2 separate regions of the Homo sapiens genome follow, and region 2 is linked to region 1. The links are contacts of gene promoters, found by promoter capture Hi-C in human tissues and cell types (Jung and others, 2019). All regions are on one chromosome and are shown on one strand. The core of a region is centred on a gene start or on the middle of the fragment in contact, and the rest is flanking DNA. Distances in the headings are between cores, read along the strand shown.

Region 1 (7,496 bases), core at 4,800-7,299:
GCAGCTTTCTGTCCTACTCATGCCCAGCTCAGCTTCCAGCCCACAAACAGAATGAATAAATGGGTGGATGAATGAATGAATCAACAAAACATATCAGAATCCATTGTGTCCCTGGAAAGGTCTGTATCCAAGGCCCCATTCGCTCCTTCATTCAACAGACACTTATTAAGTGCCTACTGTGTGCACAGTGTTGGGACTGGCCAGGGCAACCAAGACAGATACAGTCGCTGCTCTCTTGGCATTTCAGCCTAGCGAGGGTGACAGAAAAATACACAAGGCAAATAAGCCAGTGATTACAAATTATGATATATGATGTCAAGGAAAATACAGGGGCCTGTGACGGGGAGTAAAGGAGAAGGAAGGCCCCTTGGAAGAGGGGTCGTTTGAGCTTAGCACAGAGGGATGAGAAGGAAAAACCACGTGAAAGGGGAGAGGAAAGAGGGACCTGGGGGGAACGGGAGCTGGGTGGAGGCCAAGAGCAGGAGCCAGCGCAGTGGTCAAGGAGCTGGAAGGAGGCCAGTGGGACTGGAGTAGAGAGACGAGGGAGCAGATCAGGAGACAAAGGTGAAAGGTTCGATCACCAGGCCAGAGAGGCCACTATGGTAAGGTTAGGTTTACTCTACATGCAACAAGAAATTACTGGAGAATTTTATTTTATTATATTTTATTTTGTTTTTGTTTTTTTTTTTTGAGACAGAGTCTCACTCTGTCACCCAGGCTGGAATGCCGTGGTGTGATCTTGGCTCACTGCAACCTCCACCTCCCAGGTTCAAGTGATTCTCCTGCCTTAGCCTCCTGAGTAGGTGGGATTACAGGTGCCGCCACCACGCCCGGCTAATTTTTGTATTTTTAGTAGACACGGGGTTTCACTATGTTGGTCAGGTAGGTCTTGAACTCCTGACCTCAGGTGATCCACCTGCCTCAGCCTCCCAAAGTGCTGGGATTACAGGCATGAGCCACCGCGCCCAGCCTGGAGAATTTTAAAAGGAGAAACAGCATGACTAGTTTTTGTTTTTAAAAGATCAATAGCTATTTTAGGGGACTGATTCGGAGGGTGTGTGTGCAAAAGCAGATAGCAGGAAACAGGCTATTGTAAGAGACTATTGTGGTATGGACCCAGGGAGATGGAAAAATGTCAAATATAGGAGTATGTGGGAGATGATATTAATAGAACTTTGGACAGGCTTGGTGTGGAAGGTGAAGAAAAAGGAGAATTCAGGGAGATACCTTAATTTTTTATTTGAGCAGCCAATAGCAGTGATGCCGTTTCCTGGGTTGAAGGGTGGAACAGTGGAAGATGCAAACGTCTGATTGCAGTTGGGAGGGTGTGAGCCATCCCGGTGGAGCCGTCTGGGGGCAGTTGAATATACCAGCCTGGACGTCAAGGGAAACGTTTATCACATTCCCATGACATTACTATTATTTTATTCATGAACTTATTATTTTATAATTAATTTATTATTTTATTGTATTTATTGATTTTTAGAGACACGGTCTTGCTCTATCGCCGAGGCTGTAGTGCAGTAGTGCAATCACAGCTCACTGCAGACTCCACTTCCGTGGGTTCAAGTGATCCTCCTGCCTCAGCCTCCCGAATAGCTGGGACTATAGGCACACACCACCGCACCCAGCTAATTATTTTGTTTTTTGTGGAGACAGGGTCTCACTATGTTGCCCAGACTGGTCTCCAATTCCTAGGCTCAAACGATCCTCCCACTTTGGCCTTCCAAAGCACTGGGATTACAGGCGTGAGCCACCGTGCCTGGCCCCATGACATTATTTATGGTCATAGGAATGATGCCACCCTGAACCAGCTCGAACCCTGAAAAACATTAGAGATTGGGGACAGAAATCAGGACAAGCAGAGGAAAGTGATACGGAGCAGCCAGGGATGTGGAAGGGAAACAGCAAGCAGCTTCCATGGAGGCTGTGAGAATCAGGTGCTTCCAGAAAGGGGCTGTGGCCAACTGGGCTGCATGCTTCTGAGAGGCTCTGGGAGCTGAGGACAGAAGCGTGTTCACTGGACTTGGCAGCAGGGAGGGTGTTAGTGACTTGACAAAAGTAGTTTCAGTTGAAGGGGAAACGGAAGCCAGGTTGGAATGGATTGGAGAGAGAATGAAAGGTAAGGAAGTCAAGACAGCTGGTGTAGACACTTTCCAAGAAGTTTTACTGTGAAGAGGAAAGAAAAATAGGGCAATAGATGCAGGGAGGTGTGGGGCCAGGAGAATAGTTTTGTCACCACTGCCATTGTTTTTAAAGTGGGGGACACTAGAGTCTGTTCACAGATGGGGAGAGGTGGATGGGCAGTAGAGAGAGGGCACCTGGAGAGGTCTTTGAGAAGCAAGAGGGGCTGGGGTCCTGAGCCCCAGGAAAGCCTGACCCTTGCTTCTTATTATTATTCTAACAGGATAGAGGAAGACGGGGTGGGATGGGGAGATGGTTCTGTGGATTTGACAGTGTGTGTGTAGTGGTTCTTCCTTCCTCAGGGAAGACCATCAGCTGGGAGGCTCATGGGGAGGAGCGCGGAGGTCTGAGGAAAGAGGAGAAGGCATGAAATAGTTGTTTTCAAAAAGTGGAAAAGTGAGCCTACCAGAAAAATCCACACTACAGGGCTGGCAGGATTGAGGACAAACCCAGAATATGTGACCATGAATTTACGGTGAGCTCAGCCTAGTCATACCATTTCCCCAGCCACATTTCTCCAGCTCGGGGCTGACTTTGGAAAACCAGAGCTGGGGACATGCAGTTAGGGGTTCCCCAGGACTGTGTGATAGAAGGAGAGAGATCCCTCCTTCTGGGATCTCTCCCTGGGAGCTGTGGAGGAGGGACCAGAATGATGATCTTCTAAGTAAGCCTAGATGAGGAGGGACATGAAGTCAGAAGCAGGTGGAAAGGGAGAAAGTGCAGGGTCAAAGAACTGAAAGTGCCCAAAGATTATAGCAACCGGGCCCCTGAGCCAGGAGCTGAGAAGGTGGCAGGGGCAAAGGAAGAGTTTGAAGTGGTGATTTCAGAGGAGATATGGTTTCTGGTTATGATTTAGGTTCAGGGTATGCTTAAAGGAGAAAAGAGCTAAGGTAGAGTGTCCCTGTGATTCACTCACTTATTCATTTGATAAACTTTTATTGAGCTGGTGACACAAACAAGGGGAGAGTTCCACCCAGCCAGGGTACCCAGGGAGGGCTTCCTGGAGGAGGTGGTTCTTGTGTGGGTTGAGTCTAGAAAGATGAATGGAAGCTCTCCAGGGAGACAAAGAAGATGGGTGCTCTGGGAGGAGAGCAAACCACAAGCAAAGGCATGGGGGTTAGGGCAGGGGGGTGGAAAACAGCTTGGCCCATTTGTGAAAATGGAGGTAGCATGGCCAGAGGATGCGGGAAGGGTAGGCAATGAGGCAGGGATCTGATCATGGAGGGCCTTGGGAGCCCTGGGTAGGGCTTAGGACGTACTCCTAAGCAGTGGAAAGCCATTGAAGATTTAAGCAGGGGGTGAAATTTGTGACTTTACAAATATTTATGGCAGTCTAGGGGAGAGCCTGGTGGGAGGTGTTTCTTTGGTTGGTTTTTGAGACAGGGTCTCACTCTGTCACCCAGGCTGGAGGACAGTGGCACCATCATGGCTCACTGCAGCCTCGAACTCCTGAGCTTAAGGGATCCTCCTGCCTTCGTAGCTGGGACTACAGGAGCATGTCACCACGCGGGGAGGTTATTTGAACAGAACAGGTGAGGGGTGGAGGGTGGAGAGGGCAGTGACACTGGAGAGGGAGCATCAGTAGGGTGTGGAACTGGCCAGATCTACCACCATGATGCTTCGGGCAGCCACCAACCAAAGCCAGCTTCAGCAAGTGGAACCAGTGAGGACATTCCTCCCCTCACATTACAAAACAGCCAGACCTCAGGGGTAATGGAGGAGTAGGAGAAGAGGAAATTAGGAGGAAGTGAACATTTTGAAGGGAGAGGTGTACGCTGTGCAAAGAAAACAGGCTGCAGAGCAGGCCCCAGAGAAGAAGCATCTTCCAGGGGCAGGGAAGGGGCAGGTCCCAGAGCAGAGCTGGGGAGAGTGGCCGGACGCACAGGTGATGTCCTGCTCCCAAGAAGAAAGGCGGTGTGCGGTGTGGGAAGCTCAGGAGGGCCAGCGGGGAAGAAAACACTGGATCTGTCCCCTGGGGAGCTCTGGTGACTCAGGTGAGAGTCATTTCCTCGAGTGCTGGGGTTGGGAGCCAGACTATGTGTCTGTGGGCTTTTGTGGCCCTACTTGGGCTCGTGTAATGAAAAGAGTGAGCAGTATCAGGACAGGAGGATCATCACAGCAGGGACTGCAGACTGGGTGGGTGCACAGCAGCCCTGGGGTCTCTTCAAGGCCATCTGGCTGGTTGGCGCCTTCTGTGTAGTGACAAGCAGCATGTGGGGGTGTACGTGGAGTGGGTGATGGGGAGGAAGGTGGCAAGGTATATGACAGAGCTGTGAGATGCAACTGGGAAGGTCTGCATGTGGGGTGGCTCCAGGCCGGGTGTGCGTGCATGTGCCTGTGTGTGCAAGTGTGTGCACATGCACGCCCACGCTCACGACAGGGGCCAGTGAGCAGCTGAGGGCAGGGTTGGCAGGAATAAGCAGAGTCATCCCCGTGGAAACACGACTCCCTGGGTGCTGTAAGGAGCAGCTGGGAGCCAGGCACAAGGGCGTGGCCAGCTCTGCCCAGTGGCTCTGGCCTCTCCCTGGCCACCCTCCCCACCTGTTGAGCAAGCCTGAGAAGCGCCCGTGCTGACCAGGGCAGGGGCGCTGCTGCAAGGGTCAAGGCCCACTGGGAGAGGTCCACCCTCAGGTGTGGCTTTGGGGGTCTCTAGGGGTCTGTCCAGGTCCCTGTGGTGCAGGGGTGGCTCCAGGTCTGTCCATGTGGGTCTGGCAGTGGCTGCCTGCAGCTGGTCTGCAGGGGTCTCACTGCAACTGCCTGCTGATGTGGTCATTCCCCCAGGGCCATTTGCAATAAGTGATCCCCCTTCCCTTCCACAGGAATAGGCTCTGGAGGGCTGGGCAGAAGGGGAGAGGGGCCAGGTGGGGCCCAGACCACACAATGCTCACAGGCATCAAAGGCTCCTTGTGGATGCCCCTTCCCCCAATCCAGCTTGTGCTGGGACCACCAGCCAAAAGCAGTCCCCAGGAGCTCTAGCCCTGCCCCCACCATTGGAGTTGTCCATCTCCTTGTCCCTGTGACCTTCCCTGTACGTCTTCTCTTCCACGTTAGCACCTGCAGCTCTCCAGATGCAATGTTCCTCTCCCAGTTCACCCTGCCTGCCCAGTGGGCTAGAGCCCCCAGGGCTGTGGGAGGGAACTGCTAGGAGACCCCTGCCGGGCCCAGGGCCCTTTCTTCTTCCCTCTCCCAGCCCAACACCAAGTACCCCAAAGATCAGGAAAGAGGAATCCACACCCACCCCCATCTTTCTTTTCCCTTCCCTCCAGGCCAGGGATGGCAAACACAGGCAGAGGCACCACGGTCTTCCTCCTTGCGCCCCTGGCAGACATCACTAATCAATCACAGCAACCTTTTTGCACAGAGCCTGGCTGCCACCTTCATGGTCTCCACCTACATCTCCAGGTGGCCAATATCAGGATCCACGTCGGCCCTCAGGGTGAAGTCCCTGTGCCAGTCCCACTTTGATCTAACCCCCCAACCAGGCCCCTCATCCTGGCCTATCCAGAGGTCGCCTGAGCACAGCCAGCTGTGGTTCTCTCTCTGTCCCATTAGGCTGAAGCCACACAGTTCCCGGAGCTTGGGCCCAGGAGGCAGTCGAAGGCACTGGGGTGTTGACCCCAAGTCCCAAGGCCACAAAGAATCTGGTTGGTTTGCCGTCGGTCCTGAGGGCAGCCGCTGCCACTTCTGGGGAAAGTGTGGTGGGGGGGCCAGGGGTGATGCTCTGTGCCCAGCACCTGTGCAGCAGCAGCACCTTGCAGGCACATCTCCCAGTCCTGATAGAGTCTGCACGCCCACCTCCCCGGCTCGGCCACTGGGCAAGCAGGAGGTGAGGAGTGGACGGCCCGCCCAGGGAGGGGCGGCCGCCCAGCACCCCGGGGCTGCGCACTGCAGCTCCCCAGGCCACCCACCACCCTTCTGGTCTCTGAGCCCAGGATGCGAGGATGGCCAGACCATCTCTGTGCACCCTGGTGCCTCTGGGCCCTGAGTGCTTGCGCCCCTTCACCCGGGAGTCACTGGCAGCCATAGAACAGCGGGCGGTGGAGGAGGAGGCCCGGCTGCAGCGGAATAAGCAGATGGAGATTGAGGAGCCCGAACGGAAGCCACGAAGTGACTTGGAGGCTGGCAAGAACCTACCCATGATCTACGGAGACCCCCCGCCGGAGGTCATCGGCATCCCCCTGGAGGACCTGGATCCCTACTACAGCAATAAGAAGGTCTGGGCCTGGGAAGGCTTCCTCTGTCTGTCTGCCATCCATCCATCTGTCTGCCTGTCTGTCTGTCCCTGGGTCTCACAGCCTCTCTCCCACCTTAGACCTTCATCGTACTCAACAAGGGCAAGGCCATCTTCCGCTTCTCCGCCACACCTGCTCTCTACCTGCTGAGCCCCTTCAGCGTAGTCAGGCGCGGGGCCATCAAGGTGCTCATCCATGCATATCCTGCCCAAGATGGGAGAGGCGGGAGGGGTTAGGGATGGGCGAGATGGGGTGCTGTGGCCCAGGAGACCCTCTATCACCTCCCATCCTAGCTGCTTCCTCACTTTCCTTGACCCTGCCCCACGCTGTTCAGCATGTTCATCATGATCACCATCTTGACCAACTGCGTATTCATGACCATGAGTGACCCGCCTCCCTGGTCCAAGAATGTGGAGTAAGTCTCCCTGCTCCCTGAGCTCCCCAGCCCTGGGACACAGCCCATCTCAGGTGTTTGCACCTCTGTGTGGTGCTGCTCTTGTCTTTCAGGGAGACACACTGTCATTGTGACCCTCATCCACACCTTGAGTCCCTGGGGTGGCCATGCTATCACTCGCTAGTGTCCTTAGCCACCTGAGTGGCATATTTCATTTCTGTGTCCCTCCCTTCTGGGGGTCTGTCGTTGCCACACTGACCCCTACCCAGGTGACATGCCTGTCCCGGCCGGCCCTCTCCCCCCCAGGTACACCTTCACAGGGATCTACACCTTTGAGTCCCTCATCAAGATACTGGCCCGAGGCTTCTGTGTCGACGACTTCACATTCCTCCGGGACCCCTGGAACTGGCTGGACTTCAGTGTCATCATGATGGCGTGAGCAGGGGCCCCAGGACATCCTGAGGCTGGGGTGGGTGAGGGGAGGGGGCCAGGCCTTAAAGAGGGAAGCTGCCTGGGCTGAGGGCTGCAGGGGACATCGGTCAGTTGTGCAGATGGGGAGCTGCACAATTCTAGAAGCTGCCATTCTCAGGGTCTGGCTCAGCACTCTCCTGATGGACTCCTGATAATCACATGAGGCAGCCCTGACCCACAGACCCATGGGTCCTCACCTGCTGGGTGAGCCGGGC
Region 2 (7,496 bases), core at 3,500-5,999, 150 kb before region 1:
GCCTCCTACAGATAAGATTCTTTGTATGGTCGGTTGTGAGGCCATTTAAAACTTTTGCCTTAAGACTTCATAAATCAGAGTTGATACATTGATTGTCCCTTTTGGAGGCTGCAGTTCTTAAAACATGTGGCTGTTTTTCCTAGGAATATTTAAGTACCACTTGATAATAAAGTACTACCTTTTGCTGGGATTATCTACCTGGAAAAAAAAAGGGAACAAAAAATTAAAAATAAAATGTAATATCTGTGGTGTTTTATTTTTTGTTTTGTTTTGCTTTTCCTGCAAATTTATTCTTCCAAAAAAAATGTCCCTTTCAAAATAATCACCCTTTGGCGTGAATTTACGGGTTATTGAAATCAGTCTTAAAAAAATTTCCAGTTAAATTTAACAACTTATCTAACCCATTTAATAATTCAACTTTAAAACAAAAACGAACCTTTGAAAACAAATATTTACTCTTAAGCCAGTTATCCTTATACAAGTTAAAACATTCTCCAATTCCTTCCAGTCTTTGCTTAATAGGACTTTTACATGATTCACACTACACTTTTGATCAAAATTGTTATTACCCAGTTTGATCACACAATTTATTGAGGACACTTGGATTTGGTTTTCAGCTATTTATTAAAATGAAATCCATCCTAAAGTGAACAGGATTTTTACCATTTAGGGGATTCAAAAGTATATTCTTTGAAGGGAATTTCCAAAGAATTCCAGAAATATTTTGAGCCCTAGAAGCATGTATGAATAGATGTGTAGCCTCCCAAGATAACTGGAATCAGAGTGCATTAGACTGCTTGATGGGCTCTCGGCCATGTAGTCCAATGAGTCTCAATTTTTTCCCCTTCCAGCTGCACATAAGAAATATGGCGCACATCCCTCAGTAACAGTATGAGCACATCAGAACCTAGGAGGGTGGTGTTTGGGGCACCCTCTCTCAGGCATTACCCTCCTCTCCCAAGCTGAGAAAAATTACTACCCTGCTCTGTCTTCCAGAGCAGACAGATGGGAAAAGGCAACCAGCAAGGGCTGGTAACCTGTCCAGGGTCATGTGTGAGTGGCAGAACCAAACCTTAAACTTGATCCTCCTACCTCCCTTTGAAGAGAAGCCCCTGCAGTGCTTATGTTCTGGTGCGTATGTTGGGACAAACCAGTCTGGCTACCCTCAGTCATACCCTGAGGAGCTGACCAAACTATGTGGCCATGAGAGAAGGATCTAGAGAAGGTCTAGGCCAGTAGGCTTTCTTGTAAGCTTCAGGAAAATACCCAGATAATGTTATTTTTCCTCCGTTAAGAATCATGGCCTTCTACCCTTTGTTGCAGTTGTGCGAAGATGCCATTTTGAGATGGGAATGCTGCCTTCACCTGAGAGTCTCCATCAAGGAAATTGGCCATTTTCAACTGTAGAGTCAAATCCAGCAATCATGGAGAGAGTAGGGATTAAAAGCCTGCTCGGCTGGGCACAGTGGCTCACGCCTGTAATTCCAGCACTTCAGGAAGCTGAGGCGGGCGGATCATAAGGTCAGGAGTTCAAGACCAGCCTGGCCAACATGGTGAAACCCCATCTCTACAAAAATACAAAAATTAGCCAGGCATGGTGGCGGGCACCTGTAATCCCAGCTACTCATGAGGCTGAGGCAGAAGAATCGCTTGAACCTGGGAGGCGGAGGTTGCAGTGAGCTGAGATCCTGCCATTGCACTCCAGCCTGGGCAACAGAGACTCCGTCTCAACAACAACAACAAAAAATTGCCTGCTAAGCCTAATTCACAGTTTAAGCTAATTTCTTTGCTTGGAGTCTAATAATATCCAAGCAGGTGCATGTTTTCAGTAACATCTCGCCTAGTCATATGTCTGAAAGAACAAAACTGAAAGTTCTTTCCTTAGAGGCCTTTAACCCAAGCCGCTCTTCTCTAGCTCAGTCACAGCCTTCACCAAGAAGTCCTGAAAAGATAGAACTCTTGCATTACCGTGCTGGTTCTGGGTGTTTGCCTTTGCAGAGGCGCCACCTGCCAAGCAGTTCTGGCACCAGGGAGCAGGTCTGTGATGACAGGAGAGAGACAGTGGCTGTGACTCTGGCTCTTAAACCACAATGGAGGGATTCAAGTTAGCTTAGGTAGCTCTCAGAGGAGACTAATGAGGGAAGGAAGGAGCAAGGGGGGAAGGAAGGTGCCCCTGGGAGTGTGTCTCACTTCCCTTGCTGGTTCATCCGAGAAGGCAGGGACCCTGGCTTGCTGATGGTTGCATCCTCTGTGGCATTTAACGTGGCATGCTGGTTATACCCACTGTAGGGGGCACTCAGCAAATATTTATTGAATTCTTCTTTGAGACTCATTAAGACCAATAAAGGGGCTGTATTATATCATCAAGCAAGTGGGTTGTGGATGGGGGTGGGAGGTATTGCTTCAGCTATATTTTATATTCTTTAATGGGATTGCACCAGTTGTGTGTCTTTCTACAGAACTAGAGGAGCTTTCAGGATATTTGCTTGGGTGGACGTGACCCATAGTGTGTAGTGTTCTTTTGGTGGGCTCTTCTTATCAGTAATGAGATTAATTTTTCCATTGCCAAACTCCATGAGGTAAACAGTTTGTGATTATTTCATGTCAGTTTCATTTTTCACTCAGCATGATGTTTCACTGTTAAAAAAATGAACCTTGGCCCAGAGTTGTCCTCTCATGTATTAAACATGACTTCCTTTGTTAGTAGACTAATTTATAATTATAATTCAAAACCATCCCATTCTCCAGTGGATTATTTCCCCCCTCTCTGTCAGATGAAGGAATAATTGTTTGTCTGGGCTGCAGGAGTGTCTGTCATGGAAACCGAATTTTTCTGTACATTCTCTGAACAAACAGTGCTGTCACATCCCTAGAACCTGACATTGTCATTGATCTCCAGTTGAGTCAGAGAAGTTTGTTGACCAAGGTAAATCAGATCTCTCTTCTCTTAAAGCAAATGGCCCATGACTCCTGAGGGGCCACTAGGAGTGAGAGAATCACCTGTACAGGGGGCCACAACTGTGGCTAGGAATGTGTTACTTGAGGCGGTGCTTCCCAGCCATGACTCAGTCACCTGGGGAGCTTTTTAAAAACGCTGTGCTGGGGCCCCATCCTATGTGAATGAAATTGGAATCTCTGGGAGTGGGGGCCGGCATCTTTTCTTTTTTAAAAAAAAAATGTTTAAGGCCAGGCTCAGTGGCTTACACCTGTAATCCCAGCACTTTGGGAGGCCAAGACAAGAGGATCACTTGAAGTCAGGAGTTTGAGACCAGACTGGGCAACAATGAAAGACCCCATCTCTACCAAATAAACCAGCAAAAAATGTTTTAAGGCCCAAGTGACTCTGATGTGCAGCCAGGATGAGGCCTTCAAGTAATTTTTGTACCTTAATCCTGGAAAGAACAAATGCATCTCCAAATTCCCAGTCACGTCACAGAGCACGGGACCAGACTAGACACAGCATTTGGCTCATTTTACAGAGAGGTTAGGATTGATAGAGTCCGCTAGTTAGTGTTAGAACTAGAAATAAAGTTCTAACTTTATTTCTAGTTCTAGGCGTGGTGGCTCATGCCTGTAATCCCAGCACTTTGGGAGGCTGAGACGGGCGGATCATCTGAGGTCAGGAGTTGGAGATCAGCCTGGCCAACATGGTGAAACCCCGTCTCTACTAAAAAAATGACAAAAATTAGCCAGGCGTGGTGGCGCGTGCCTGTAATCCCAGCTGCTTGGGAGGCTGAGGCAGGAGAATTGCTTGAACCCAGGAGGCAGAGGTTGCAGTGAGCCAAGATCCCACCACTGCACTCCAGCCTGGGGAACAAGAGTGAAACTCAATCTCAAAAAAAAAAAAAAAAAAAAAAAAAAAAACCTAGAAAAAAAGGAACCTAATATTACATTTTCTCTACTGTACTATATCATTCAACTTTTAAAGAGCAGGTAATTTAATGGATTTTTTCCTTTGAATACAAACTGTTGAAATTGCTTTTATCAGCTTTAACTAATAGGCCTTATATTAAAACATATTTAGTTACTGAATTGTAAGATGTTTAAATGTTTATTTAAAGTTACCCGACTTATGCTTGTTTATTTATTTATATATTTGTTTATTGCCTTTTCCATATATTAAGAGGCTTAAGAAATCAAAACAATGTTGTTTTCCAGGCTCCTTCACAGTATCCTGATGGGTAAAATCATCTTCATGGTTTTAAAAGAACCTTCCATAACAAAAATGAAATAGCCATTGCGAGTGAGGAGAAGGGATTTGTAGAAGGAGTGAGTTAGTTAAAGCACAAGAAGAAGCTTGTGAACCAACAGGAACTTTCCTATCAGGGTGGGAACATATGTTTTGGAAGCAAATGGTGGGAGGGTGCAGGCTGTGACACTCCCTTCCCCTTTTCATGTGAGAGCTGGCTATTAGCCTCATTGCCTGAGTCAGGCAGAGTTCCCTCGAAGGGTTTTTATAGCAGGTGCCGAGCTGACAAGCCCAACTGTAGAACACAGGAGAGGACCAGTCAGTTGTCTCAGCTCCCGGACCCATCTCAGTTGTTTCTCAGAGGATCTTTATTAGCTGGTTTAGAAACAGGAGGACACTTGCTTTCAAGCATCACATTGAGTGGGCTGGACCAAATCCAAAACTCTGCTGGAACCAAGTTGACAAATGTCAGTAGAATTGGGAGCCCGCTCTTTGAATACAACCTTGGAATGGGGCTTGGCACCTGGCCTGAAAGCGCTGTGTGGACTCCAGCACCAGGGCTGTTTCCTAATTTAACTTAATGCTTAAAGGAAATCCCAAGTGGCAGACCAGTTCTGCACTCCTTGAGCAGATAGGCATTTAGCTGTTTTTAAATGTAAAATCATTTTAGCTGTTTTTAAATGTAATCATAGGGCCAGTATCTTGTTTCTATATGTGTGTTTGCCCCATATGATGAAATTGTATGCATTCTTTCAGCAAGTGAGAGTCCGGAGGTTCTGTACTAGCTAGCTGTGCAACTTTGGGCAAATGAGTTATTTCCCCCTCTGCTTCCTCATCTGTAAAACAAAGCAACGGAACCAGAAAATCTCTTTGGTGGGCCTGTTTCCAAATGTCTTCCCAAATTAGGATCACCATTTAGGTGAAAGCGACTAGTCCCCCAGCCGCCTCTTTTTCTGGTGCAGCCTCATACGGGGAGGTAGAAGATGGGAGGGCTGCTTTGCTTTGAGCCTCCCAGCTTCCTAGCTCTTGAATGTAGTGAATTTCATCTGTTCATCCATTTATTTATCAACTTTTTGAGTACATATTTTATGCCAAGCACTGTTTGAGATGCTTGGGAAACATGAACAAAACAAAGACCCCCGCCCTCATGGAACTTCTACCTAGTTGGTTGGGATAGACAACAGCATGGTAAATACATTATATAGAATGTGATAAGGTGATAAAATTCTGCAGGGGTTGCAGGGGAGAAACATAGAGCAGAGCAAGGGAGATGGAGGCCTCGTAAGTTGCCACACACCGTGGTGTGGTTTCATCGGCTCTCGCTCACCTGTCTTGTATAGGGCCTAGGGCCTTCCCTGACCACTGTACTCTCGTAGACTAGATCCCTTCCTGCACTCCAAATAGCACCACGTCACTTAGTGTTGGGGTAATGTACAGGTTGGTGCTCCTGTTTGTTTCTTGTCTAATCTTCTGGAGGACTGGTGTTGATAGTCCTCAGGTATGTCTGAAAATCCTGAGCAAATATGAGGGACTGAGCGTGAACATTGTTGATTTTTCTTTACTTTCTATTTCTTTTTTCTTTTCTTTTTCTTTTTCTTTCTTTTTTTTTGAGATAGAGTCTCACTGTGTCGCCCACACTGGAGTGCAGTGGCGTGATTTTGGCTTACTGCAACCTCCGCCTCCCGGGTTCAAGTGATTTTCGTGCTTCAGCCTCCCGAGTAGCTGGGATTACAGCCATGTGCCAATACGCCCAGCTAATTTTTGTATTTTTAGTAGAGACGGGGTTTCGCCATGTTGCCCAGGTGAGTCTCAAACTCCTGGCCTCAAGTGATCCACCTGCTTTGGCCTCCCAAAGTGCTGGGGTTACAGGCATGAGCCACTGCGCCTGGCCACATTGTTGATTTTTTTAAAAATTTTTATTATTTATTTATTTTTTGAGATGGAATCTCACTCTGTCGTTGAGGCTGGAGTGAGGGCAGTGGCATGATCTCTGCTCACTGCAAGCTCCGCCTCCCGGGTTCACACCATTCTCCTGCCTCAGCCTCCCAAGTAGCTGGGAATACAGGCACACGCCACAACACCTGGCTTTTTTTTTTTTTTTTTGTATTTTTAGTAAAGACAGGGTTTCACCGTGTTAGCCAGGATGGTCTCAATCTCCGGACCTTGTGATCCGCCCACCTCGGCCTCCCAAAGTGCTGGGATTACAGGCATGAGCCACCGCTCCCGGCCACGTTGTTGATTTTTAAGGATAACATGATAAGACATTAAATCCTGTCAGGGAAACCTCAGAAAACCCCCACAACTCAGAGGGGTCAGAACCAGCCATTCTTTGATTTTTGTGATGGCTGTGCACCCAAATACACAAATGGGTGTGTTTGTGTGTGTGTGTGTGTGTGTTATTTTTTTTTTACATTAAATAAGATTACATTTTTTTTCCATTGTAGGAGTATTTGTAACATCTCCCGATAAATTGAAATGCGGTAAGAAAGTTCTAAGAACAAATTTGGGGAATCTCTGACCTTTAAAGGTACTACCTCATTATGAGCAATCCAGTGACCTTATTCTAGAATTCTGTTAGGGTTCGTTTTCCACTTGCCATGAGCTGGTTTTGCAAAGAAGAAAACGGTTTCCTTTATATGTGGAGATTAAGAACAAGTTTATCTGTAGTTTTGGTGCTCGACTAACTGGGAACCAAGCCACAGTTGCTTGTAAAACGGACCCTAAGTTATCTTGATCTTGATGGTTCAGTGCTTGGAAATCTCTGGGGCTTTCGGTGCCTGGTAAAAGTTCAATCACTTATCTGATTTGTGGTTGGCAGAAGAAAAGGTATCACCCTTTCAGTTTAGGAGATGGTTGCTTTTAGAGTCTATAGTAGGTAGGTGTGCCTGGGAATCAGCCACCTGGTCCCATGTAACATTAGTTGATTTTCATGGTATTTCTTTTCCCCATCCTGAACCTTAAAGTGAGTCAGATTATTACTAATTTCTAATGTTGCAATATTTTGAGATAAGCGGAGACACTTAGATGTTGCAAGACCAGGATTGGAAATGACTATGTTCAAAGGCATTAGGACTTCTAAACTCTGTCAAATTGTTATGCGGATTTTGGGCATGTTTTGATTGGTTGGGGCTAGAAGAAGCTGCAGCAAAGCCTGAGGAGAGATGAGGGTCTGGTAAGTCATGGATCATCATGCTTCAGAGCTGCAGCCACCATCCACCTCAGGCTTCTTACTTTCTTGGAAACCCATGCCTGGAAAAATCTAATGACTTGCCCAGAGCTCAAACCAGACCATGCATCTGTGTGCCCA

What was found. The method cuts DNA at HindIII sites, captures the fragments that hold promoters and counts their contacts. A contact is called where the count stands out against the background at its distance.
Region 2: a fragment that was not itself captured here is called in contact with the fragment with the promoter of SCN4A in region 1 in 1 of the 25 tissues and cell types used here (mesenchymal stem cells).

The regions. Positions count from the first base shown.
Region 1 is chr17:63,971,471-63,978,966 of GRCh38, reverse strand. It overlaps SCN4A (sodium voltage-gated channel alpha subunit 4), which reads left to right and starts at 6,049. Exons shown (of 24, transcript NM_000334.4): 1 at 6,049-6,398; 2 at 6,497-6,615; 3 at 6,742-6,831; 4 at 7,117-7,245. The coding sequence starts at 6,126. The HindIII fragment of the contact is 21,993 bases long and covers 1-7,496 here.
Region 2 is chr17:64,115,745-64,123,240 of GRCh38, reverse strand. The region is part of intron 1 of ERN1 (endoplasmic reticulum to nucleus signaling 1); the gene reads left to right. Among named protein-coding and RNA genes, the nearest start is that of ERN1, 11 kb to the left of the region's middle. RefSeq lists enhancers at 1,774-1,913, 2,144-2,203. The HindIII fragment of the contact is 3,950 bases long and covers 2,775-6,724 here.